2 separate regions of the Homo sapiens genome follow, and region 2 is linked to region 1. Evidence: promoter capture Hi-C in human tissues and cell types (Jung and others, 2019). All regions are on one chromosome and are shown on one strand. The core of a region is centred on a gene start or on the middle of the fragment in contact, and the rest is flanking DNA. Distances in the headings are between cores, read along the strand shown. Region 1 holds the start of TRAPPC9 (trafficking protein particle complex subunit 9). Region 2 overlaps AGO2 (argonaute RISC catalytic component 2).

Region 1 (3,983 bases), core at 436-2,935:
TGGGGTGATGAAAATGTTCTGGAATGACAATGGTAACACAAGTGTGAATATACTAAAAATTACTGAATTGGCCAGGCATGGTGGCTCACGCCTGTAATCCCAGTACTTTGGGAGGCCAAGGCGGGTGGATCACGAGGTCAGGAGTTCGAGAGCAGCCTGGCCAACAGAGTGAAACCCCGTCTCTACTAAAAATACAAAAAAAATGTAGCCGGGCATGGTGGCAGGCACCTGTAATCCCAGCTACTCAGGAGGCTGAGGCAGGAGAATCGCTTGAACCCAGGAGGCGGAGGGTGCAGTGAGCCAAGATCGTGCCATTGCACTCCAGCCCAGGCGACAGTGCGAGACTCCGTCTCAAAAAAAAAAAAAAAAGAAAAATCACTGAATTGTACACTTTAAAGCAGTGGATTTTATGGCAGGTAATCGAGGCTCAATGAAGCTGTTATTTTTGACACACTAGATTTCTGAAACATTTATTGTTTACATGTTTCCGGACAACTGTTTTTCCCTCTACACTACTAGTCCTCCACACAATTAAAAAAACGAACAAACACACACAACAAAACCTAGCCAGATCTTTAGGACGGCAATGTTCCTGGGCCTCCAACATCATCCACCCGGTGCTTTGTTTCAGGTTAACAAATAAAGATGTCATAGGTAGCTATGACTACCTTAGAAACACGGGACAGTCACCAGTTTAAACTGGGGCCGTGAGGGATGGAAGGGAAGTCACTCCCCCATACCTTTCAACTGGGCCTTGCTTCCAGCGTTTTAATTCCTCTCTCTATAGAAACATTTGAAGACAGACAACGCATCCTAACACGGGAAAACTTTCGGTTAACAGACATTCACGTTGGGAAGGTCTGCAGGGGTGGAGGGGATTGGGGTGGGCTGACAGGGAGAAGACCACAGGCCAGTAGCCTGACTTCCTCTCCCCAGGGTTCCCTGGGATAAGTTGGAGTTGACAGCGCGCTTATCCCAGAGAGCACCGCCTGATGCCGCCCAGCTAGATCGCAGGCACTTTGAATCCAGGAGACAGGAGGGAAAGGGCTAGGGGAGAAGTCCGGGAACTCAGGGCGGGGAAAGCGCCGGGGGCGTGGGCTGTGCTGGGCCCCAGGCCCCAGCCGCGCGTCCCAGACCCCGCGGGCTCCAGTGGGCTTAGCCAGGCCCAGGGGCGGGGGGCTCCAGCGCCGCGGACGGCCCGGGAGGGGAAGCCAGGCGGAGACAGCTCGGAGGCACAGAGGGGAAGGGGACCCCCGCCGCGAGCTCGGGAGAGCAGAGCCGGCCCGGGCAGCAGGTGTGGGCCGGGTCCCGGACAGGTGTCCGCCGAGTCTTCAGCGGGTGTGGGACACGGCCTTGGACAGATGTAAGCAGAGCGCCAACAGGAGCAAGGGCGCCTCGAGCAGGTGCACGCTGAACCCCGGCCCGGCAGCGGACCCGGACAGGTGTGGCGGGCTCCGCCCGGACAGGTGAGGGCCGGGCGAGCCCCTCCGCGGGACGCGCCGACTCCACGGCCAGCCGCGCAGCCCTCCCCGCAGCCGGTCCGAATTGCCTGACCGGGAGCCCCCCCGCTTTGCACTTACACAGCCGGTGGCCCCGGGCCCGGAGCGGGAGCCCACGACCTGGCGGGCAGCGGGGCCGAGCAGCCTCTGCGGCCACTTCCCAGGCTCTGGGCTGGCGCTTCCTACTGGCGGCCGAGCCGGCGCTGCTCCTGCGCGTGCGCGGAGGCCAGGCCTGGGCCCCCGATCCGTCCCGGGTTTTGCAAGAGACGCGAGGGAAGCAAGGGGGTAGGAGCGAGGGAGAAAAGAGGAAGGAGGAGCGAGGGAGAGAAGAGGGGACAGGGAGGGAGGGGACATGGGGAGGGAGGAGGAGGAGGGAGGAGGGAGAGAAAAAGGTGGGGTGAAAGAAGGAGGGAGGAGGAGCGAGGGAGAGAAGCGGGGACGGGGAGGGAGGAGGAGGAGAGTAGGAGGAGGAGGGGTGAAAGAAGGAGGGAGGGGCAGCGAGAGAGAGAAGCGGGGGACAGGGAGAGGGTGGAGGAGGGAGGAGGGAGGGAAAAAGGAGGGGTGAAAGGAGGGAGGAAGAGGAGGAGGGAAGGAGGGAGATGGAGGGAGATGGAGCGAGGAGGGAGGGAGGGACCGGAGCAAGAGAACAGAGACTAGGAGGAAAGCTTCTGCACCTGGGGCGGCGCAGCTGGAAGGAGGCCCAGTTCTGTCCCCGCCGCTTACCAGTCCTTCAGGGCGCGCAGCTCAAATTTCACTTCCTCTGTGAAGCTCAGGGGTGGAGGCCCCGCGGAAGCCCACTGTGGATCCCTGCGGCACCCCCTGTGACCCTCACGGTACCCCCCGTGACTCCCACGGTCGTGCCCCCCACGTGGGTGGGTGACCGTGGCGCGCGCGGCCTGGGAGCGCCTCCAGGATCGCAGGGCCCGGGAGGCACGTGAGGTGCGAGCCCCAGCCTGGGCCGGCTTCCCCCTGTGTGGCGCGCGGTCTTGATCCCCAGCTGGCACCATGGCACTCCCGACTTTGAGGGCCCCAACAATCCATCCACATAAAAGGTTCCAAAGAGGCGACAGGGGCTAGGACAGCTGTCGTTAGTTCAGTGCCAAGGCGCCAAGCTTGCTAAGTGCGGGCAGAAGCCATTTAAGGATTTAAACCCCTCTGGGTTCAAAAATAAAATAAAATAAAGCAGGAGATGGGGGAGGCTTACAGACTTAAGATGCCCAGCACATGAATTAACAGTGGCATCCGCAGGGAAAATTGAAAACAGAGAGCCGCTCTCCGTTATGTATGTTTAATGTTCTGTTTGAATCTTTTAACATGTACATGTATTTCTTTTTCAATTAAAAAATCCTGGCCAGGAGAAATGGCTCACACCTGTAATCCCAACACTTTGGGAGACTGAGGCGGGTGGATCACTTGAGGTTAGGAGTTCAAGACCAGCCTGGCCAACATGGTGAAACCCCGTCTCTACTAAAAATACAAAATTAGCCAGATGTGGTGGCGCGCGCCTGTAATCCCAGCTACTCAGCAGGCTGAGGCAGGAGAATCGCTTGAACCTGGAAGACAGAGGTTTCAGTGAGCCGAGATCATGCGATTGCACTCCAGCCTGGGCAACAACTGCAAAACTCTATCTCAAACAACAACAACAACAAACACTAAAAAGGGCTGGGTGTGGTGGCTCACACCTGTAATCTCAGCACTTCGGGAAGCCAAGGCGGGTGGATCACCTGAGGTCAGGAGTTCAAGATCATCCTGGGCAACATGGTGAAACTCCAGTCTCCACTAAAAATACAAAAATTAGTTGAGCGTGGTGGTACATGCCTGTAATCCCAGCTACTAGGCAGTCTGAGGCAGGAGAATCTCTTGAACCCGGGAGGCGGGGGCTGCAGTAAACCAAGATCACACCACTGCACTCCAGCCTGGGTGACAGAGAGAGCCCATCTCAAAAAAAAAAAAAAAAAAAATCCTAAAATGGAAAAGTAAAGAGGACAGGAGTGGTTTTCTCAGCACATACAGCAGCAAGGGAGAAATGGTCTGAGCCAGCATTTTTCCTTTCAGCCAGCAGGCACTTACCCGCTCTGGGCTATGTGACCAGGGCTGTTTTATTATCACATGTGTTATAAAATAAGATACTATCCCTCATCCCTGCTCAGGGCTAGTGGAAAACCAATTGAGTTTTTATTGAATTATTTTCTACAGAGTCAGAATGAGTTATAAATAAAACATATCTTCAGGGCAAAACAAATAGAGCTGATTTCCAGCCTGCCAGACAGCCAGGAAGTTTTCAACAGAGGTGCCCAGGGGCTGAGGAAGAGTGTCTCCCTGACAACGCACAAGCTGCCCAACGTGGCTACCTCATGGTGTTACGACCGCATGGAGGCCGTGCAGTGGCTCACAGCTGTAATCCCAGCACTTTGGGAGGCCGAAGCAGACGGATTGCTTGAGCCCAGGAGTTTAAGACCAGCCTGGGCAACACAGGGAAACTCT
Region 2 (3,983 bases), core at 949-3,448, 63 kb after region 1:
TCTGGCCATTCAGTAAATGATGGTGAAATAGCGAGAATATAACAAAGGCCATATCAAGTGAGTATATTGCTGTAGATGAGTTTCTGTGTATTCTTCCGGTTTTGACTACCATGTCCCAGGGCCAGTGGGCACAGAGGTGCTTTGTATACTAAGAAGTAGTAAAGGGTTCTAGATACATTAAGAAAAAAGTAAATCTTGATTTTTGTTTAAAAAAATAAGACTGCGGAACAAGATAGATCAGAATGTTAAGGTTAATTACCTATGTGTCGTGACTAGAGATAGCTCTTTATCTGAATTTTCACATTTTTCTGTAACATTGTTCTTAAAATTTGGAAACCTGAAATAAGGACAAAATCTTGGCCTGCCTCAGCAGTGATGTACAGCCTAGGGATCTGCTGCCATTTGGGGGCTTTCTTAAGAAAAGGAAAAGCCTGGCCGGGCACGGTGGCTCACGCCTGTCATCCCAGCACTTTGGGAGGCCGAGGGGGGGCAGATCACCTGAGGTCAGGAGTTCAAGATCAGCCTGGCCAACATGATGAAACCCTGTCTCTAGTAAAATACAAAAGTTAGCCGGGCATGGTGGTGGTGCAGGCCCGTAGTCCCAGCTACTCGGGAGGCTTAGGTGGGAGAATCGCTTGAACCCAGGAGGCAGAGGTTGCAGTAAGCTGAGATTGCACCACTGTACTCCAGCCTGGGTGACAAAGTGAGACTCCATCTCAAAAAAGAAAAAAAAAAAGGAAAAGCCCCCTTTTCCTTTCCCAGCACGTCGTCATCTCAGTATAGACAGCAGAAGTCAAAAACAGCCCAGTCAGGGTGAGGCCACCAGGGATTTGAGAGTAGCCAATGTGCGTAAACCTAGCCGGGACAGAGTAGCAAAGTGGCTGGCCAGGCCGCGAACCAGGACGGTGCCAGCTCAGGTTCCCACACTCAACACGGAACTCAGGACTTTGCTTGTGACGGGCTTAGCTGAATGGCTTCTTGATCCTTTCTCATGCTGCAGGAGCAGAAAGAGCCAACTATCCGACACACCATGGCTGCTCCCACTAGTCCAACTCATGCCTGTGGTTCTCATCCCCCAAACCCAAATCCTCGGGTAATGCCCAGCTCTGCCAAGTACATTCTTCAAGGAACAGCCCTCTGTTTGTGGAACAGGGCTCTGGACTTCCATCCCTGAAGGCACGCTTCTGCCTCGGGAGCTGGAATCATAACCTGTGCAGAAGGAAGTGCCTAAAGAAGTAGGTGAGGAATTGAAGATTTTTGGAAGAGGCAGCTGTAAATAGGAGGACTTTTATTTAATTTTTTGCTGACATACTATGAGGCAAAACAAAATTGACACCATACAAAATAACTTTATAAAATATCATTCACATCATATTTTATCAGATTTACAGCATTCTGTGCATGTTAGGGGTTATGTAAGGAGGTGAAAAAACACTATGCCAAACTTTTAGTATTAGTTTATATACACACAGTAAGAAACAAAACAAGTAACTGTTAGGTTTTCCATGAATTTATTGCAAAAATAGTGCAAACTACTTCACCTAGTAAGCTGTAAAAACAAACTAGAAAGGACCCAGCTAAGCTTAAACACGACAATAGATGCTCAGTTTCTCAGCATTTAGCTTTCTTCACCAGTTTTATCTTGACAATCAAGACCACTCCCCATCTGTTCAGTTTCGGGTGAGTGCTGAGGAATAGAGAAATGTGAAGACGGGCTCTCTGGAGAGACCAGAGGCTCGGGCTGCCTGATTTCAGCAACACATTTAGGATCATGCTACTTCCTCAATCGCAATTTTTCTGAGGTCTGTGTTGGGGGAAAAAAAAAAAGGTGACATGATTTTTAACCTTGAGCTTAGAAATAAGTTATCCAACCTCTTGATGACATGGAGAAATGAATTAAGAAAGCAGCATGAACAGGAAGGATTCAGAACATTATTGTCTGCTTATAAACACAGTGTCTGCCTCCTCAGGTGTATTTGGCTAAAGTATTATTCTAATATAGGGCAACCTTCGAGCCAGATATTGCAGCAATTTTTTTAAATTTTTTTAAATTTTTATTTTTTAAGGATACTATATCCCTACAAGAGTAATTTTTAAATTTCTTTCAACAGTCTATTGGGGTCCAAAAAGCATATATCAAAACAAAAATAACAAAAGCAAAACAAAATGCTACATGTAAAAGCTAAAGAAAGAAAATGCAGCATATTCAGGTTCTTTTTCTTGAGGTACCTATATAAATTTAATCACCTGCCCCAAAGTCCTCTCGTTAGGTTAAAAACACAATGCGTCCTGGGGAGCCAATTGCCCGGCACGTCTTATTACTGAGAAAGTGCAAGAATGCTGATCATCTTATGCAGCATACTAAAGGATGATTTACTCTTTACAAAATAGAGCTTAAGTATCAACCTGATGGAAGTTAGAAAATTAAAAACATTTAAGTAGAATCATCTCTCTCTCTATTTTTGAGATCCTGCAGCAAAAAGCCTCCCAAATCAACTTTCAAAGTTCTGCCATTAAGGAATGTTGGTTCTCTTGTAAAATTCAGAGATCTCTTTAAAATAGTAAAACTATATACTACAGGAAAGATCCCTAATTTTTATTTCTTATTGGTATAAAATCAAATTCTTAAGACTCCAAAATATTGTTACCTCCAAAGAATTAAGTAAAAAAAGATCGCCATAGTAGGAAAAGTCTAGAATTGTAAACTGCCAAATATAAAAGCATGGTAAGTCATCAACCTATCTCATTTTCTTACCTGTCAGAAAGCCTTCCTAACTTACAGGCACACAGGGCCGCTGCTGAATGCAGGCCTCTGCCTCCACAAAGCCACGAGCTCTGGCTCGCCCCTTTCTGTCCATGGCCATTAGCACCTCCACCAGGTAGGTCAGGAGAGATGAAATCGACAACAGTCCGTTTGCTGCTTATGAAATAAACTCTTAGAAAATGTGCCAGAGGAAGAGGGGGCATGAATGGCTAGAAAAGCAATGATGAGGGTACTTGGGATTTTTTTTCTGGCCACCCCTTCACTGGCACAGAAAATGAAGTGATAAGCTATAAATATGTGCATAGAGGAGTTTGGACTTTATTGTTTGTAAAATGTTAAATTTGCTCTTGGACATTTTTTTTTTTCTTTTCACAGGGGGGCAGTCGGGATTATAATACACTGTAGCAGTTGGCTGGGGAAAAGTCTATCAAATTCCATGACCAATTGGACTTTTCTCCCACCTGTAATATAAATAAAATATGTACTGTTTCATACTGAATTTTTTCAATGCATTGGGGTTCAACATAAAAGGCACAAATAAATAAAAATATCATTAAATAAACGGAAATTACAATTTCAAGTTTCATGTGGAGTTGTATCTCACTGTTTGGTTACTTTTTCCAATTTAATTTGACAGACTTAGTAATAGCACCCAACTGTTTAACTGAGGTAGATCCACATTGTAAAGAAAGCTGGGTCCCCTCCATTTTATCTCTAAATTTATGATACTTTTATAAAAACAAAAATCCATTTAAATCATATGCAGAAGCGATGACAGGTGGTACTACCTGAAGAAAGCTTAGAACATGAGCAGGTTTGCAAATAAGACCTACGCCCAAATCACACTCTCCATCAGCCACACAGAAATCTCAGACTGGAGGGGAAAAAAAAAAAGAAACATGAAAAAAAAAAAAAACCCTGAAAAAGTCGCAAGACTTTTAGAACAGGTCTTTTTGACTGTCACAGAAATGCACAATGGTCCATTTTCATCAAGCTATGGCCATAGCCAAGCTAGACAAGAGAGAGAGAGAGAGACAGAGACAGAGACAGAGAGAGGGAGGGGGAGGGGGGAGAGGGGGAGAGAGAGAGAGAGAGAGAGAGGTGTATCACTGAATGCTTCCCTTTAACTCCAGAAAAAAATAACTTGAATTATGATACAGCATCTTGATCTGAACAGTTTACACTCACTCTGCCTAATATTTTTGCATACTCTGAAACT

What was found. The method cuts DNA at HindIII sites, captures the fragments that hold promoters and counts their contacts. A contact is called where the count stands out against the background at its distance.
Region 2: a fragment that was not itself captured here is called in contact with the fragment with the promoter of TRAPPC9 in region 1 in 1 of the 25 tissues and cell types used here (hippocampus).

The regions. Positions count from the first base shown.
Region 1 is chr8:140,456,059-140,460,041 of GRCh38, forward strand. TRAPPC9 (trafficking protein particle complex subunit 9) reads right to left here and starts at 1,686. Exons shown (of 23, transcript NM_001160372.4): 1 at 1,581-1,686. RefSeq lists silencers at 1,231-1,280, 1,391-1,780, 1,871-2,110, 2,231-2,540 and an enhancer at 1,940-2,458. The HindIII fragment of the contact is 3,662 bases long and covers 1-3,448 here.
Region 2 is chr8:140,518,885-140,522,867 of GRCh38, forward strand. It overlaps AGO2 (argonaute RISC catalytic component 2), which reads right to left. Exons shown (of 19, transcript NM_012154.5): 19 at 1,272-3,983. Among named protein-coding and RNA genes, the nearest start is that of CHRAC1, 9.6 kb to the left of the region's middle. The HindIII fragment of the contact is 4,793 bases long and covers 1-3,983 here.